Regions from separate parts of the Homo sapiens genome. Here region 2 is linked to region 1. The links are contacts of gene promoters, found by promoter capture Hi-C in human tissues and cell types (Jung and others, 2019). All regions are on one chromosome and are shown on one strand. Each heading gives the region's core, a stretch centred on a gene start or on the middle of the fragment in contact. The rest is flanking DNA. Distances are from core to core; before and after follow the strand shown. Region 1 holds the start of KLF11 (KLF transcription factor 11). Region 2 overlaps LOC100996549 (a long non-coding RNA gene).

Region 1 (2,844 bases), core at 345-2,844:
GGGTCCCTGCAGGAGCTCACAAGCCACAGTGGGGAGCAGAAGCGTTACGCTGAGTACAGTGGGAGCCACTGAAAGGGTTAAAGACCCCTGGGGGTGCTGAGTGGGAAGAGGCTCTGGGAGCTGGAGTGGACGCAGGGAGACCAGTTATAAGGCGAATGCAGGAGTCCAGGCAAAAGAGAATATTCCAGTGTGTATCTTAAGACTTAACTTTTTACACACAGAACACCCTGCGCCCCTCTCAGAGCCTCCGGGGTCTTCATGCGAGCAGTTTATCACGGTTCTTTCGTCTTAAACCCTCTTACTATTTCAGCAAACACCCTCTCCTCAGCCTGGTCAACCCCTCTGCCCAACCCGAGTGGGCCCCGAAGGAACAAGTGGGGACCAGAGTCCTGCTCATGTGAGTGGTGGGGCCCAGCCCGTTCCCCTAAGACCAGAATTCTCTCGCTCAGAGCAAAGCCCCGGGGTGCCGGGATTCTCTCTCTGCTCCCGCTCCCTGGATGGAGCTTTTAAAAAAGGAGGATTCCTCACTGCGGCCTCTGCCCCTTGCACTGAGCGCCAACCCGCATCACAGCTCAGCAAAGGCGCGCGCAGTGAACAGACGGAGGAGGGGTGGCTCCTCGCTGAGCTGAAGGCTGCGGCGACGAAAATAAACAGCATGGTTCCTGCTCTCCACGAACCTGGCGCTGCAGACGTGGGCAAACCACACCAAGAGACGCGAGCAACCGAAATATAGGGAGAAAAAAAAAGGTGCCCTGGACAGCGGGCTAGATGTCTCCTGCAGGCTCGAGGACTTCCCGGAGGGGGCGGCGTTTTCTCGGGGCCTGGGAAGAATGGGCGGGTTTCAGCGGGCGCCTTCTGGGTGACTGCCCGTTTCGGCTTCCCCTGACCCCGTAACAGAGCGGAAGAGGCCCAGAGACGCCAGAGGAGGGGCGTCAGCGGGACACTCAGGCCAATAAGCTCTGACTCCCGCTGTCTGCAAAAATGACCGGATGCAGGAATGTCACCTAGAACCGGCCAGCTTTCCGACCTCTCCGGTCAAGGACGCATTCCTAAGAGACGAAGGGAGAATGACAGAAGTTAAAAACAACCAAACAAAAGCCAGGTTGAGGCCTCTAGGTGGGTCTCCGCTACCGATGGATTCAGCCGGTGGGGCTGCAGGAGGTTCCTATAAGCGTGGTCCCCTCTCCCCGCACCGAGTCCGGCCCCGGCCCTGGGATTTCCCCAGCCGCCGCCCCGCCCCCTCCGCCCCGCCGCCCCCGCCGCCCCGCCGCCCCCTCCGCCCCCGCCGCCCCCTCCGCCCCCGCCGCCCCCTCCGCCCCGCTTGCCCCTGGCGCCGCTGCGACCTTTCCCTTACTTTCCAGGGCCTCAGGCCCCGCCCCTCGCTCCGACCAAAACACGTGCCGCGTCCCGCCCTGCCCGATCACGCCGCGGCCAGGCTCCGATCACGCGGCCCCCCGCGGCGCTCATTGGCCGGCCGGGCACGAATTGGCTGGTGGTGGCCGGCCCCGCCCCGGCAGGGGCGCGGTGTATTTTGGTTCGCCTCCGCGCCCCGCCCCGCCAGCCGCTCCCTCCGCGGCCGCCCCGCCCCTCCCGCGCCGCGAGGGCCGCGCCGGGGCAGAGCCGCGCGGGCGGGCGAGGCGCGTGCCGGCCGCAGGAGCTCCGGGTTGCCGCCGCCGCCGCCGCCCGCAGCCCACGTGCGGCCGCTGCTGCGCCCGAGCTCACGCCCCGCGGCCGCTTTGTTGCTCCCGGCCGGCCTGCACGATGCACACGCCGGACTTCGCAGGCCCAGACGACGCGCGCGCAGTGAGTGGTGGGGCTGCCGCGGCGGGACTACTCGTCTGAGCGAGGGGCGAGGCGGGGGAAGTGGTGCGGCACTCGCGCGCCTGTAAATGCGGGAGGTGGGGCGTGCAGGGCTTCGCTGCGGCCGCGCCGGTAGGGGCCTGGGCGGGCTCCGGAGCCGGGCGGGGCGGCGGCCGCGACGGGCGCGCCCGGGTCGGCGGGGGCGAGGAGGGGGCGTGTTCCCCGCGCAGCTTTGTCTTGCGCTTCCTGGGCGGCCCCGCCCCGCTGGCCCCGCGGCTATTTCCAGCCATGACGTCACCCCGGTCCTGTGAGCCGGACGGCCGTTGGGCGGGGGAGCGGCTGGCGGGAACGCGGCACGCGGCCTTGGGGGCGGGGCAAGAGCTGCTGGCGGGAACGCGGCACGGTTTTGGGGGCGGGGCACGCGGCCGTCGGGCGGGTTAAGAGCGGCTAGCGGTAGTGCCGCTCGGGCCTGGGGGCGGGCAAGGTCTAGGGGCCGGGGCAACGACGGGAGGCGGGAGCGCCGCACTGCCTTGGAGGCGGGGCAACGCTTGGAGGCGGGAACGCGGCACGCGAGCGTTGGGGGCCCTAAGCGTCGCGACCTGGGGGCTTCGGGGAGGTAGCCGTGGACGTGGGCAGAGCGCGGGCCTCGTGGTGTGCGGGCACTGTGGGCCGGGCGAGCCCCTTCCCGCCCGTGTGGTGAGTCGGCCTCGGCGCCCGGTTCTGTGACATCACAGGGGGTTTAGTGGCGCAGCCTGCGGGACAGAGGCCGGGGATTTGAGGTGGCCTCGTCTTGTTTGATCTCGGGGAACCTCGGCAGACGGAAAGCTTTGATGCTTTGGTGCATGGCAGATAGAGAGGAAACGTGTATCTTCGTACATTTAAAGTTTCCTTTCCTTTTTTTTTTTTTTGATAGGGAGTCTCGCTCTATCGCCCAGGCCGGAGTGCAGTGGGCGCGCGATCTCGGCCCACTGTAACCTCCCTGGGAGGGAGGGGTATTACTCTTCTCAGAGTAATATCACCCTCTCGCCCCCGGCTTAGTTTTCT
Region 2 (3,172 bases), core at 86-2,585, 270 kb before region 1:
GCACTGCAGGCGAGCTCCGTGTGGGCGGCTGCTGAGCCCGCAGATCCACAGATCTCAGGAGGGACTGGGCAGTGCTGGAGGCTCCAGGATGGGAGCGGGGGGGCTCTTGAGGTGGGGGTGAAGCTGAGGAGCTCTGGAATGGTCATGAATTTGTGGTCTTGGCTGGGAGCACAGACTATGGGGCCTCTGCCTCCCCCATCAGTGCCACTCACTCCCACTCCTGTCCCCCACCAGCAACTGTGCTGAGCTCACAGCCAAGGCAAAGCTATCAGGGAGGGCAAGCAGAGGCGGGGAGCTAAGGATCGTGGCTGGTTTTAGGAAAACGGCTGAGGAGGGTCTAGCTGATTCTCCCCACCTCCTGGCATCACCTGACCTCTCTTTCTTTTCCACTGGTCCCTCCTTTGCAGCCTAGTGGAATGGGAATCACAGAGGACTGGGAGTCAAACAGTAAATCAGGATGCCTGTCCCTGTCGACCAACTCTGGGACCATGAGCAACCTGCCCAGTGAATCTCAACCTGGGTCTTCACATCTGTGAAATGGGATGAGGAACCCTGATCGACCTACCTCCAGAGCTGCTGAGAAGGTCAAATGACTCTCAAGAAATTCAACTGGACAGACATGGACAGATGCTTACTATGCACCAGCACGCCGTGGCGCTCCAGGGACGGAGAGAAGTACACTCTTGCGGAGCTCACCAGTGAGTGGGTGGGAGACGAGCACGTGCAAACAAGACAGCTCGGATAAGCGCCAGGACTCAGCCTGTTCCAGCAGCTCCTGGGAGTGCCTGCTAAGGGCCAAGTACCGGGATACAGAGAGGCAAGAGCGGCAGAGGAGCCCAGGGACTGCATGGGATTCAAATCACGAAAGAGCAGCGGCCTCCCCCAGAGCAGCCCTCAAATGCATCCGTCTCATTCATCCTCATACACCGCCAGGTGGAGCCACTGAATGCTCTCCCCATTTTACAAGTGAGAAAGCTGTGATCAGAAAGAAACAGCTGTCCCAAGTGCAAACGAACCCTGGGAAGAGGTGGAGCTGGGATTTGACTCTTGTCTGGCAGGTCCCAGAGTCCCTGCTTTGGGCCACTGAGCTCAACTGCTTCTCCCGGCCTCACCCTTCCATGTGCCTATGGCCTCTGGGAGGGAGCTGCCTGGTGTCAAAGGCCCTCCCCTGCTCCCTGCCCCGGCCCTGGCCTGGGCTGTGGTCCCACCAGCCACTCACCCCTCCGCCTTCCCTGTTCTCTCCTCCTTGCCTGTCTTCAATAAGACGGTCCAGGGGCGTGGACAGATAGCACAGTGTCACAGAGCCCGACAGCACTGACATCGGCGTCCTACGCCACCACTTGCGAGCTGGGGCAAGGCCACGGAGCCTCTCTGAGCACTGTTTCCACGCTGCAGTCCACACACGGGCAGTGCAGGGCATGAGCCAGACCCTCAACACCTTCAGTGCTCGCGAGGCACTCTGCACCCCCAGTGCTTCCAGAAGGGGCCATCTGTCCCCTGTTTCCAGGCAGTGGAAGGTGGAGTCTAGCCTGGCAGGACAGGAGGCAGAGGCTGGGCCTTGTCTCCAGAGAAACCGGGGCTCAACTCCTGCCTCCTCCCTCACTCGCTGTGTGTCCTGGGGAAAGTCACAAGGCCTCTCTGAGTTTTGTTCCTGGGGCCTCCCACCCCAGGGTCCCAGACGGGATCCAGCAGGACCCGAGGTCCATGGGTCTGAGCTGGCAGGATCTGAGCTCAGAGACCTTGCCCCTCTCCAGAGGACCCCCACCCCTCCCAGCTCCTCTAGGTGGCCCCCTGGTAGCCTCCCGGGGCCCTGTGAATGGGGGAGGGGGAAGAAGGCGCTGTCACCTGGGTTTGAGGTGGAGGGCACTGGTGGATGGCAGAGGAAGCCTGTCTGGGCTGGGAGAGGGCACCCTATGGCTCCCCTCTCTGGGCCTGGCTCCCCCACTGCTGACAGCCTGGGCTGTGAACAGACCGGTGGGAGGGCCTGCACGGGGCGGGGGATGTGAGGCCAAGGCTGACCTAGGTCTCAGGCACAGCCTTACAGTGGGCAGCTTTGAGAAACCCAGTGAGAAGGGCCAGCTCTGGGCTCAGAGGCCAGGGAGGGCGTGGGAGAAACAGGCAGCGCCCCGCACTGGCTGGCATCTCTTGAGGTTTCTGTAGAAATGTTTGCTCCGGCAGGAAAAAAAAAATCTGTTGCCATGGTAACCTATGTCTTCCCTCCCCAGCTGAGTCCTCAGAGGGAAAATCATCTCAGAATTCCCAGGGATGAGTGGCCAGCTACACTTAGGGGAAGCTTCCCAAACCCAGGCCTCCCAGCAGGGTGAAGAAGCCACATTCGCTCAAACACTGGAGCCTCATTCATTCATTCATTCATTCATTCAACAATCACTGAGACTCTACGCCCCACCCTGTGCTGGGCCTGGGGATGTGGAAATTCATCCAACTCGGTCCCAGAACTCAAGGAGCTCAGACTCTGGTGGGAAGACAGGTGTGTAAGCGTGAAGCCATGGAGGTGGTGAGAGCTTTGACAGGGGATGGCAGAGTGCTGCAGAAGCACAAAGGGAAGGTGGGAGGGCTTCCTGGAGGAGGCCCGCTTTGGCTGGGTCTTTGGGCTGCTCTAGACCCTGGAAGCCCTTAGAGCCCAACCCCCTGCCTGGTGTTCCACCCATTTTACAGAGGAGAGCACTGAGGTCCAGATAGGGTGAATGACTTGCCAGGGTACAAGGAAATGAGTGACAATGTGCGGGTGGGGCTGATGTTCCTAAAAGGAAAGGCAGCTTCATATCCGACCTGAATAAATAATGTATTCTGGATTTTAATTATTTAAAAAGCCTCCATTTCACTGGTGTCTCATCAAAAATAGAAACTCTCTTCCTTTCACTCTAGATTTCTTTTGAAAGTGGCAGGTGGGCGCAGAGGTAGGGCCTGGGCCTCTGAAGCGTCCTGCTTGTGGCAGCAGCTGTGAAGCAGAGGCCGCAAGCCCCGAGCCTCCGACGGAGAAATGACAAGTGACCGTCATCCTGGAGCCTCCCCCCTGCCTTAGGCCAGTCTGCACCTAGCCCTCAGATGGGTGGTCAGCGCACCGCTGTTCCCACAAGACTCGGGTGGTTCCCCAAGTCCACCAGCTTCTCTTTCCTCCCGGGCACACGGGGGTCTTACAGCAGCACCTCTT

The links. The method cuts DNA at HindIII sites, captures the fragments that hold promoters and counts their contacts. A contact is called where the count stands out against the background at its distance.
Region 2: a contact is called between a fragment that was not itself captured here and the fragment with the promoter of KLF11 in region 1, in 3 of the 25 tissues and cell types used here (IMR-90 fibroblasts, mesendoderm cells and thymus).

Annotation. Positions count from the first base shown.
Region 1 is chr2:10,041,956-10,044,799 of GRCh38, forward strand. It overlaps KLF11 (KLF transcription factor 11), which reads left to right and starts at 1,595. Exons shown (of 4, transcript NM_003597.5): 1 at 1,595-1,803. The coding sequence starts at 1,762. KLF11-DT (KLF11 divergent transcript) reads right to left here and starts at 1,446. Exons shown (of 3, transcript NR_135558.1): 1 at 1,355-1,446; 2 at 678-1,049. RefSeq lists a promoter at 853-1,752 and silencers at 1,439-1,668, 1,959-2,008, 2,129-2,178, 2,219-2,288. The HindIII fragment of the contact is 11,158 bases long and covers 1-2,844 here.
Region 2 is chr2:9,769,634-9,772,805 of GRCh38, forward strand. The region is part of intron 2 of LOC100996549 (a long non-coding RNA gene); the gene reads right to left. Among named protein-coding and RNA genes, the nearest start is that of TAF1B, 72 kb to the right of the region's middle. RefSeq lists enhancers at 555-1,483, 1,484-2,411. The HindIII fragment of the contact is 4,385 bases long and covers 1-3,172 here.